Regions from separate parts of the Homo sapiens genome. Here regions 1, 2 and 4 are each linked to region 3. The links are contacts of gene promoters, found by promoter capture Hi-C in human tissues and cell types (Jung and others, 2019). All regions are on one chromosome and are shown on one strand. Each heading gives the region's core, a stretch centred on a gene start or on the middle of the fragment in contact. The rest is flanking DNA. Distances are from core to core; before and after follow the strand shown. Region 1 holds the start of TRIML2 (tripartite motif family like 2). Region 2 has its middle 83 kb from the start of LINC02492. Region 3 holds the start of FAT1 (FAT atypical cadherin 1). Region 4 holds the start of ZFP42 (ZFP42 zinc finger protein).

The links. The method cuts DNA at HindIII sites, captures the fragments that hold promoters and counts their contacts. A contact is called where the count stands out against the background at its distance.
Region 1: the fragment with the promoter of TRIML2 here is called in contact with the fragment with the promoter of FAT1 in region 3 in 1 of the 25 tissues and cell types used here (IMR-90 fibroblasts).
Region 2: a contact is called between a fragment that was not itself captured here and the fragment with the promoter of FAT1 in region 3, in 1 of the 25 tissues and cell types used here (lymphoblastoid cells).
Region 4: a contact is called between the fragment with the promoter of ZFP42 here and the fragment with the promoter of FAT1 in region 3, in 1 of the 25 tissues and cell types used here (bladder).

What each region holds. Positions count from the first base shown.
Region 1 is chr4:188,108,192-188,110,891 of GRCh38, reverse strand. TRIML2 (tripartite motif family like 2) reads left to right here and starts at 1,289. Exons shown (of 8, transcript NM_173553.4): 1 at 1,289-1,649. RefSeq lists an enhancer at 2,258-2,700. The HindIII fragment of the contact is 13,208 bases long and covers 1-2,700 here.
Region 2 is chr4:187,754,690-187,757,389 of GRCh38, reverse strand. No RefSeq gene overlaps it. Among named protein-coding and RNA genes, the nearest start is that of LINC02492, 83 kb to the right of the region's middle. The HindIII fragment of the contact is 4,721 bases long and covers 1-2,700 here.
Region 3 is chr4:186,722,564-186,725,263 of GRCh38, reverse strand. FAT1 (FAT atypical cadherin 1) reads left to right here and starts at 1,408. Exons shown (of 27, transcript NM_005245.4): 1 at 1,408-1,600. RefSeq lists enhancers at 1-965, 1,466-1,967. The HindIII fragment of the contact is 8,530 bases long and covers 1-2,700 here.
Region 4 is chr4:187,994,478-187,997,177 of GRCh38, reverse strand. It overlaps ZFP42 (ZFP42 zinc finger protein), which reads right to left and starts at 1,407. Exons shown (of 4, transcript NM_174900.5): 1 at 1,338-1,407. RefSeq lists enhancers at 349-643, 258-1,239, 1,240-2,219. The HindIII fragment of the contact is 6,716 bases long and covers 1-2,700 here.

The sequences.
Region 1 (2,700 bases), core at 40-2,539, 1.4 Mb before region 3:
TGTGAGTATCTTCACAGACGTTGGCCGTACCCAGGCTTAGAAGAGAAAGGAAGATTGGATTAGAAAAATAAGAGAAGTAAAGGAGGATGGACTGGCTGAGGAGGGGAGGGGGCACAGGAATAAATGTGGTCTATTTGAAGAAAGCTGGGGAATTGGGTTTTGGAAAAGAGAGTGGGTGTAGGTAATCATCTGAGATAAGAGAAAGGGTGTATGGCCAGGCGCGGTGGCCAGAACTTTTGGAGGCCAAGGAGGGTGGGTCACCTGAGGTCAGGAGTTTGAGACCAGCCTGGCCAACATGGTGAAACCCCATCTCCACTAAAAATACAAAAATTAGCTGGGTGTGGTGGGCGCCTATAATCCCAGCTACTCGGGAGGCTGAAGTGGGAAAATTGCTTGAACCTGGGAGGCGGAGGCTGCAGTGAGCCGAGATCGCTCCACCGCACTCCAGCCTAGGCAACAGAGTGAGACTCTCATCTAAAAAAAAAAAAAAAGAAAGAAAAAAGAAAAAGAGAAACGGTGTATTGAGATTCCATAAGGTAGAACCAGGTTCTGAAAGATCAGATAAGCAAAGCAGAAGAATTCTCATTATCCTGTCAGCAGCATAAAGAAAAAAACTCCCTGGTTTGATTAGCAGGGGATTGACTGACTGATGCAATAAAAACCCTCGGGGACAAAACTATAAAACTTAGAAAGCTGTGAAGAGTTCCTCCTCACTGAAGCCAAATATCAAGTATGAATTATCTGGGATTGTTCCCTGACCTCCCATCTGTGACAGATTCCATAGGCAGTTATCCCTACTCTTGGTTTTTCTTTCCACAGATACTGGAATGAACACTTCTCCAGCAAACGTTCTAGAAACTAACAAGTCAGGCATTATTTTCTACTAAGGAACAAACACAGTCTTGAGTGTTAGCTCGAAGGCTTCTTTCCTGTGAAATTGTCAATATACACTAGATTCATTAAGAAAGAAAACCCCAAACCTTAAGGAGCTAGAGGTGTTAGGCACTGTACATGGCACTGGAGATAAAACAAGATATTTATCCAACCAAGGTCAGGGCTATTAAGCATTTTCTGGGAGTCCATTAAAAATGTAAATTACGGACCCCACCGTAGATTTCTGGAATCAGAGACCCTGTGAAGAGGCTTGCGTTTTAATAAACTCAGGTGGTTCTAATGAGATTAATTGTGTGAATATGATAAGAAACTTCACAGACGCCTTCCTGATGGTGTGAGGGCGGGGCTGAGGGAGGAATTGAACAGATAAAATCTCTTCAGTCTCCACTGTTCCAGCTTTTTCCCTAAAGGAAATACCTTGGTTCGGTGTGGTGACTCATTCCTGTAATCCCAGTACTTTGGGAGGCTGAAGCAGGCAGATTGCTTGAGCCCAGGAGTTCAAGACCAGCCTGGGAAAAATACTGAAACCCCGTCTCTACAAAAAATACAAAAATTAGCCGGGTGTGGTCGTGCAGCGCCTGTAATCCCAGCTACTCAGGAGGTCAAGGTGGGAGAATCACTTGAGCCTGGGAGCTCGAGGCTGTAGTGAGCCGAGATTGCGCCACTGCATTCCAGCCTGGGTGACAGAGCAAGACCCTGTCTCAAAAAAAAAAAAAAAAAAAAAAAAGGAAATACCCAGGATTGCTACAAAGAAAGTAAGTGAGATTTTCTCTATAGATCATTTTCTTAATAATTGTTTCTTTAGATTTCTAAACTTGATCTTAGAATCTATGTGTGTGTGTGTGTATCTGTGTGTTATCAGGAAAAAGCCTGAAGAAAAATATTAGGAAAAACAAAATAAGGGTAGACAACATGCTGGGGACTTAATTCGTCAATTTTCCTTTGCTGTTTCTGTAAAAATATTTAGTCTCTGTCCCTCTCTCATTACACCTTCAATTTTTACTGGTTTAACATAAAATATCGTTTACAATATTTATTGTGCATCGAGTATGTCAGATGTAGACACAGGGCATCTCAAGGACTTAGTTTCTTATGGATGGAGAGTGACCCACAAGTAAACTTGTTCATAGAAAGATAAAATCTTTTCGCTACTAAGAAAATAAAATAAGGAGATGAGTAGTGGGAAGGTATTTCAAATTGAGTAGTGATGGAAAGGTCTCTCTTGGGAAGACATTTGAGCTGAGAACTGAAGAGAAGAAAGAAGAGGCAGCTGGAATTGCAAAAATATGAGAGAAGAGCTCTGTTGGCCACGGAAGGGGGAAGGGCTGTGATGAATTAGAGGCAGCTAGATTGACAGTGATGGGGGAAAGCTATAGAGAGATCAGAAGAAGGCAGGAGGCCAGATTGTATAGGACGGGGTTATTACCCACTTCGATCTTACTCTAATGCCATAGAAAGTGACCACAAACCTGCTCACTTGGTTTTGGTTTTAAAATAGTATTCTGGTGGTTGAGCAGAGAGGAGCTGGAGATGGACGAGGAGGGCAGGACAGAATATAAATTTGGAAAACAATAGTTGAATTGGTGAAAGGAAGGCTTAAACTGTGGCTCTAAAGGAATGAGTTTGGGGGAAGAGAGCCACTGGGTTGAGATCCTGAGCGGCTTTAGATATGTTAATTTTGAGTGCTCCTTAGACATTCTATTGCAAAAATGTTGGGAATTGGGCAGGAGATTGAAATCGGAGAATGGAACTTAAATCTTCAGAAACGAGTAAGATTACCTAGGGAGAGACCAGGACTGGGAGACC
Region 2 (2,700 bases), core at 108-2,607, 1.0 Mb before region 3:
CCAAGATTGAACAGATGCTCAACCCTAAAGCAAGTCTCAATGGATTCAAGGATGTTAAAATTATACCAACCATACTCACAGACTGCAGTGGAATAAAAAAAGAAATCAATATGAGCAAGATCTCTCAAAACCACACAATTACACGGAAATTAAACAATTTGCTTCAGAATGACTTTTGGGGAAACAACAAAATTAAAGCAGAAATTAAAAATATTATTTGAAATAAATGAAAATAGAGACACACTGTGCTAAAATATCTGGGATGCAGCAAAAGCAGTGTTAGGAGGAAAATTTATAGCACTACTCACCTACCTCAAAAACACAGAAAGGTCTAAAATTCATGATCGAACATAACACTTAGAGGAACTAGAAAAACAAAAACAAACTAACCTCAAAGCTAGCAGAAGAAAAGAAGTAAATCAGAGCAGAACTGAACAAAATTGAGGTACAAAAAACCCATACAAAGTATCAACAAAACCAAAAGTTGGTTATTTGAAAGGATAAACAAGATCAATAGACTACTAGCTAGATTAACAAAGAAAGAAAGAAAGAAAGAAAGAATGAAAGAAAGGAAGATTCACATAAGCAGAAGCAGAAACAACAAAGATGACTTTCCCACCGTTTTCACAGAAATACAAAAGATACTCAGGCAGTATTGTGAACAGCTCTATGCACATAAACTAGACAATCTAGACAAAATTGTTAAATTCCTAGAAATACTCAATTTCCCAAGATTGAATCAGGAAGAAATTGAACACTGAACAGACCAATATTGAGTTATAATATTGAACCAATAATAAAAAACCTACCAACCAAAAAAAAAAATCCATGGACTAGAAGGATTAACATTTGAAGTCTACCAGATATACAAAAAAAAAAAAGCTATTTATTTGAAACTATTCAAATAAATTGAGAAGAGACTCCTCCCTGATTCATTTTACAAAGCCAGCATCACCCTGATACAAATTCCTGGCAAAGATACAATGAAAAAAGAAAACTACAGGCCAAAATTCCTGATGAACATAGATATGCAAAAATCCTCAACAAAATACTTGCAAACTAAATCCAATAGCACACCAAAAAGTTAATTCACTGCAATACAGATAGTTTCATTCCTGAAATGCAAGGTTGGTTCAACATACATAAATGAATAAATGTGATTCACCACATAAGCAAAATTAAAAACAAAAACCATATGATATTTCAATAGATGCAGAAAAATCTTTCCATAAAATCCAACATCCCTTTATAAAAAAATGCTCAAGAAACTAGGCAGTGAAGAAACATATCTCAAAATAATAAGAACCATCAATGGCAAAACCACAGCCCACATTATACTGAATGGACAAAACTGGAACCATCCCCACCTTTGAGAGCTGTAACAAGACAAGGATGCTCATGCTAACCACTCCTACTCAACATAGTATTGGAAGTGCTAGCCAGAGCAATTATAAAAGAAAAATAAATAAAAGGAATCCAAATAGAAAAAAGAGTCAAATGATCTCTCTTTGCTGATTATATACTTCTATATCTAGAAAATCCTAGACTCTGCCAAAAGGCTCCTGGAACTGATAAATGACTTCAGTAAAGTTTTAGGATACAAATTAATGTACAAAAATCAGTAGCATTTCTATAAACCAATAACATTTCCATTTACAATACAAGAAAACAATCCCATTTACAATAGCCACACAAAAATAAAATACCTAAGAACACACCAAACCAAGAAGGTGAAAGATCTCTATAAGGAGAACTACCAAACATTGTTGAAAAATATCATAGATGACACAAACAAATAAAAAAACTTTCCATGCTCATATATAGGAAGAATCAACATTGTTAAAATGGCCATACTGCCCAAAGCAATCTACAGATTCAACACTATTCCTATAAAATCACCAATGCCATTTTTCACAGAAGTAGGAAAAACCATTCTAAAATTTATGTATAACCAAAAAAGCAGCAGCCTGAATAGACACTGCAATCCTAAGCAAAAAGAACAAAGCCAGAAGCATCACATTAACTGACCTCAAACTGTACTATAAGGCTGTAGTAGCCAAAACAGCATGGTACTGGTACATAAATAGATGCATAGACCAATGGACCAGAATAGAGAACTCAGAAATAAAGCTGCACACCTACAGCCATCTGGTCTTCAACAAAAGTCAACAAAAATAAGCAATGGGGAAAGGACTCCCTATTCAATAAATAACACTGAGATAGGTGACTAGCCATATGCAGAAGATTAAAACTGGATCACTCCATTTTACCATATAGAAAAATTAACCCAAGATGAATTAAAGATTTAAATGCAAAACTCAAAACTATAAGAATCCTAGAAGGAAACCTAGGAATTACCACTCTAGACACCGGCCTTGGCAAATAATTTATGGCTAAGACTCCAAAAGCAATCACAATAAAAACAAAAATTGACAGGTGGGACCTAATTAAACTAAAGAGCTTCTGTGCAGCAAAATAAATCATCAGAGTAAACAGACACCCTACAAAATGGGAGAAAATGTTCACAAACTATGTATCCAACAAAGGTCTAATATCCAGAATCTATAGGAAACTTACATCAACAAGCAAAAAACAACCCCATTAAAAAGTGGGCAAAGGACATAAACAGACACTTCTAAAGACACACGGTAAGGCAACAAACATATGAAAAAATGCTGAACATTACTAATTGTCAGAAAT
Region 3 (2,700 bases), core at 159-2,658:
ATTCGGCAAGCGGCACAAGCCGGTTGGGCTTGGAGATCAGGTCACCCACTTTCGAGGTGTTCCATGTATGAAATTGACCTGTAAGCACTTGGAGCAATTATGGCCGGGACAAACACGTCTTTGGATGATGGAGTTTGCATTTGCTGGATGTGTGAATCTATGTGTATTCCAACTGGTGGGCAGGGAATATAGGGCTACGAATCGGCACACTCATCTTGCAGGCATTATTTTTCCTTCCCAGCCACAACCTGCTAGACACCTTTATTATTATTATTTTTTCCGGTCACCTCTAAGATGGCTTATAAGGTGACTGCGTTAACTTTGAACCCAGGAAATTCTCTTTCACACTTGACTGCCCTGCCGTTCCCCTCCCCGCCAAGCTCCCCTCACCAGTCCCAGGGAAATCGGATCTCTTTGTCTTCCCAGTGTTAAAATGCCTGAGTCCCACAAACTTTCCGAGATCAAGTCCGCCCTCTTGTCCGGGCTGCGTCCCAGCGCCTCCGGCCCTCCGGGCTTCGGCCGAGTCCGCCCTGCGCCGAGCCTGCGGCTGGAGCCCTGCCCGCACCGGGGATGGGCTCCGCGCCCGGGACGCTCAGGCTGGGCGCCCGGCGCGGGGAGTTCTCGGAGCGGGCTTCTCGGCGCTGGGGCTTCCCCTCTGCCTAGGAACTTGCAGTTGTCGGCCTGGGGTCACGCTTTGGGGCCCCTGGGGCCGACTCCCGGGCTAGGAAGCCCGCGGGACGCCGCGACTGCCTTTTGTCCCACAGGCCTGGGCGTCCGGGGTGTCAGCGGGGGAGGCCAGGCGCCCGCGGCGGGGAGGGCCTGGGGTCTAACTCGGCAGAAAAAGGTCGCGGGGGAAGCGTTTCCATTTTCTGGGGATTGAAGGAGGAAGTAGATTCCGACCTAGCTGCATTCCTTTGGAGACCTGAAGGACGACTTCAGCCCACCAAACCTTCGCGGACCCAGAGCCGCGCCATTCAAATGCAGATTCAGGGGCTCCCAGAAGGCTATGGAAAAGCTAAAGGGATGCCTCTGGGAAGCTTTCTCATTAGGCCCCAGCCTTTTTTTTTTTTTTTTTTTTTTAGCTAAGCTAACGTTTCCCTTTCTTGGCAGGGAGCTTTCCCCAATTCCTTGCACAGCGCCTGTGGCTGGCCGTAACTAACCTCGGCATCACAAGCCTCGCCCTGCCCCTCGGAGCCGCGCTAGACCCCGCTGGGCGCCTTCTCGTCTCCCAGCACGGACCTGGTGTTCGCAGGGACTGGGGCTCTTTGGGTCCGGGCGGGACTGCGTGGCCGAGCCCGCGGTCCCAGAGCCGGCAGCCGGGGAAAGTGGGCTCGAGTTTCCGCGCCCGAGAAATGAGCGCCGGCGCCGGCGGGCGGGGCCGGGGCGGAGGGATCTCCTGCGCTCGGGGAGCGTGAGGCGCCGGCGCCGAGCTGGGCGGCCGGGCGCGGGGAGAGGGCGCGGGAGCGGCTCGTGCGGCAGGTACCATGCGGACGCGCGAGCCCGGCGAGGGCCCCGGCAGGCCCGGTCCCTGCTCGGGGGCGCGCTGAGACGGCGGGTGAGCTCCACGAGAGCGCCGTCGCCACTTCGGGCCAACTTTGCGGTTAGTTCGCTGGGGCGCGGGCCGGCGGGCGGGGGCGAGAGCGTGCAGCGCGCTGCGGTGCGGACTCTGTGGGTGTCCGCCCGGTCCCCGGCTCGGGCTCCGGCGCTGCCGAAAACGGATGAGCGCGCGACTTCCCGGAGGGTGGAGTGACTCGGTCCTTCCCAGTTGGGAAATTCAGCACTGGCTAGGGGGGTCCCGGCGGCGGAGCGGGAAAAGGAGGCGACCGCGCGGGACCGATCCGGGGCCATTGCTGGGGTCCGATCCTTTCTGACACGCCGCCTTCCCTCCGGGAGCTCGCCGGGCTGCGCCGGCCTCGCGGTCTCCTGGGGCATCCCGCCGTCTGCGAAAGACCCGCTCGCTGAGCGGTGCACGCGGGAGGCCTGCGCGGGGCTGCCGGGTCCCTGGGTCTCTGGGTGTTTGCGCCCTGCAGGAGCGCTGCCCGGAGGTGCAGATGCAACCGGTGGACTGCGGAGTGAAGGGCTGCGAGGCTGCATTTCGGGGCTGAACATCTGCACAATGTGCGGTTTGTCAGTGTTTTCTGTCTTCTCTGGAGGAGGAACTTCTAAGATCTTTTTAAAAGAAAGAGTTTTTGGTCCTTCATTGCCTTTAAAAAAAAATGCTTTCTTTTAGAGAGCCAGCTTTCTGCTGTGTGTTAGATTTTTTTGTTCCCGCTGATGTGAATTGCAAGGCTTTGGAAACAAGGACGCAATTGTATGAGTTAGGAAAGTAAACTCATAAATATTTTCTATGCAGTTAAGTTTTTTTTTTTGTCTGAACTGTGGTTTCATTAAGTGGCTTTTGTTAAGCAATTCCCGGGTGCCTGATAGAGGCGATTTTTTAAAAGTGGATATTAACAGTGATTATTAGTATGAGAAAAGATTGAAAAGAAAATGACCTTCAGATATTCATTTCCTTTTCAAAAGCAGATTCTTAATGCTTCGTATATTCAGATACAGGTTTCGATAGTTTAAGAAGGTATCTGTGTGTGAGAACTAGGTAATGGTGATGTTTTTCACACTATTCTTAATGAGTTTGGTTATGCTGTCCAACACATCCAGTTGTTACAGGGACGTTTGAAAAGGTGTTTCTCCAGTTAATAG
Region 4 (2,700 bases), core at 158-2,657, 1.3 Mb before region 3:
GAAAAGGCCCCCAAGGAGGGGGCCATCGGAGCCAGATGTGGGCAGGAGGAAAAGTGCACGGGGGTGGGAAGAGACGAGCGAAGCCTGCTGGTTCCAGGCTGCCGGCGCTCCCCGGGGGCTGCAGGCCATGCTCCATGCTCCACGCTCCATGCTCCATGCTCCACGCTCCACGCTCCATGCTCCATGCTCCCTACAGCTATGGCGGGCAGGAAGGTGGGGGCTGGGGCGAGGCCCAGGCGCGGGGCTGACGGTGAGCCCCGGGACCATTTGCATTTCATCCCAGGTCCCAAGGAAACCATTACAGGGCTTCCAACAAGCAAACAGCAAGTTTTTTTAGGTTAGAAGATGGGCCGGACAGCTGCATGGAGAATGGATTTGGGGAGAACAGAAAAATCTATTAGATTTGGGAATCCCGCGAAGGGCTGCCAGGGGTTTGGAGCAGATGGCGGCAGAGGAGATGAAATGCAGGGAGAGCGGGAAAACAGGAGAAAGAACCACCCCCTCGCCCTGCAGCTCGCCGGTGGATTGGATGAAGAGCGGAAGGGAAACAGGAATCAAGAATGAGTCTCGCCCGGCGCGGTGGCTCACGCCTGTAATCTCAGCACTTTGGGAGGCTGAGGCGGGCGGATCATCTGAGGTCACGAGTTCGAGACCAGCCTGACCAACATGGTGAAACCCCGTCTCTACTAAAATACAAAAATTAGCCGGGCGCAGTGAAGGGCGCCTGTAATCTCAGCTACTTGGGAGGCTGAGGCAGGAGAATCCCTTGAACCCGGGAGACGGAGGTTGCAGTGAGCCGAGATCGCGCCATTGCACTCCAGCCTGGCAACAGAGCGAGACTGTCTCCAAAAAAAAAGAAAAAAGAAAAGAAAGAGTCTCCTAGGTTTTTTGCTAGAGTAATTTGAGTTGGGGGTATTGCCATCTCCAGAGATAAGAGGAGAGGAAAAGAAAGGGAAGAGACTGGTGTCTTGATCACAATGTAAGCATGTTAATATAGAAAAGACTTAGCCAGATATTGTAAGGAAACATATTTACATGAAGTTTTGAAATAAAATAAAAAATGCAATTTAGGAAATCACCGCCAGACACTTGCTTTCTTGAGAGTGTATTACTTGCCCATCTGCCCGTTTTCAACATTTGAGGCCAGTGGCCAGCCACGGGTCACCGCAGGGCGAGGGCTACAAGTCTCCCGGCGAGGCCGGCTCCGGCCTGGTCCCAGGATGAGAACACGCTTCCCCTCCCTGACTATCTAACCCCTTTGACCGACACATTCCAAGTAGTGAGCAACACAACCCCCTTCTCCCCATTTGAAAAAAGTTCCATGAAACAAGACTCACCCCTGTTACCGCGAAGCACTCTGCTATTTCCAATGCCACCTCCTCCCAAACGTAAAACAAAGGAGAAACTGCAGTGGAAACGTGGACTGCCCTGCGCCCCCTCCCAAGACCCACCCTCCGGACTGACGCGGTCTAATCAGGCTACAGCCACCCATCAGCTCCGCCAGGGTTAGGGAGGGCGTGGCCGGCCCCGCCCTGGGGCGCCGCCCTGGAGCCACCTGGCCCGCGCGTTCACTCTCTGCCCGGAGCCGCCTGGCACCTGGGCGGCGCGCTCACCCTCAGCCCGGGGCCCCCAGGCACCCGGCCCGCACGCAAACCCTCAGCCCGGGGCCCCCTGACCCCCGCGTTCACCCCTCAGCCCGGCCGCCGGGCACTGCGCATCCGCCACGTGGCAGCGCCTCCAGAGCCCAGACGCCCGGCGTTGGCACGTGGTGAGCGCTCAATAAATGTCTGTTGAACAAATACGCGTGGGTGTAATCACATTTACCCTTTTAGGCCGGACGCGGTGGCTCACGCCTGTCGTCCCAGCACTTTGGGAGGCCGAGACGGGGGGATCACATGAGGTCAAGCGTTCGAGACCAGCCTGGCCAACATGGCGAAACCCCGTCTCTACCGAAAAATACAAAAATTAGCCAGGCATGGTGGTGCTCGCCTGTAATCCCAGCTACTCAGGAGGCTGAGGCAGGAGAATCGCTTGAACCCGGGATGCGGAGGTTGCAGTGAGCCGAGATCGCGCCACTAAGCTCCAGCCTGGGTGATAGAGCGAGGCTCCATCTCAATAGAACAAAACAAAACATTTACGCTTTTGCAGATCGAGGAAAAAAATCAAGCGGAGGAGGCAGTTTTTACCCCCCGAAATAGAGGTTGACTCGAACGCAAACCCCCACACCTTTCCCACCCCACCCTACCCCCAGTTGTTTCAAACACCCCCAGTGTTTGTTTTCTTTTTTCTTTTTCTGGCCATTAATGTGACTGTATTGCTAAAGGCAACACAACTCACTTTGAAAGCAATGGTCAGTCAACGCTCACTATTGGCTACAGTCTAGTGAAATGTAATAGGTCGTATAAGTACACCCAGACCATTAGAACGAAACCCAGATCGATATTTAAAAACCTCCTAAATGTTGACTTGAAGCTTTTCTGCATATATATCTGGGAGCAGTTCTCCACTTTTTTCTTTTTTTAAATCTGTTTCTGAATAAGCTTCAATTTTGAGGTTGGCCAATAAAATATAATTTTCCTTCCTTCCTTCCTTCCTTCCTTCCTTCCTTCCTTCCTTCCTTCCTTCCTTCCTTTCTTTTCTTTCTCTTTTTTTTTCTTTTTTGAGACGGAGTCTTTCTCTGTCCCCCAGGCTGGAGTGCAG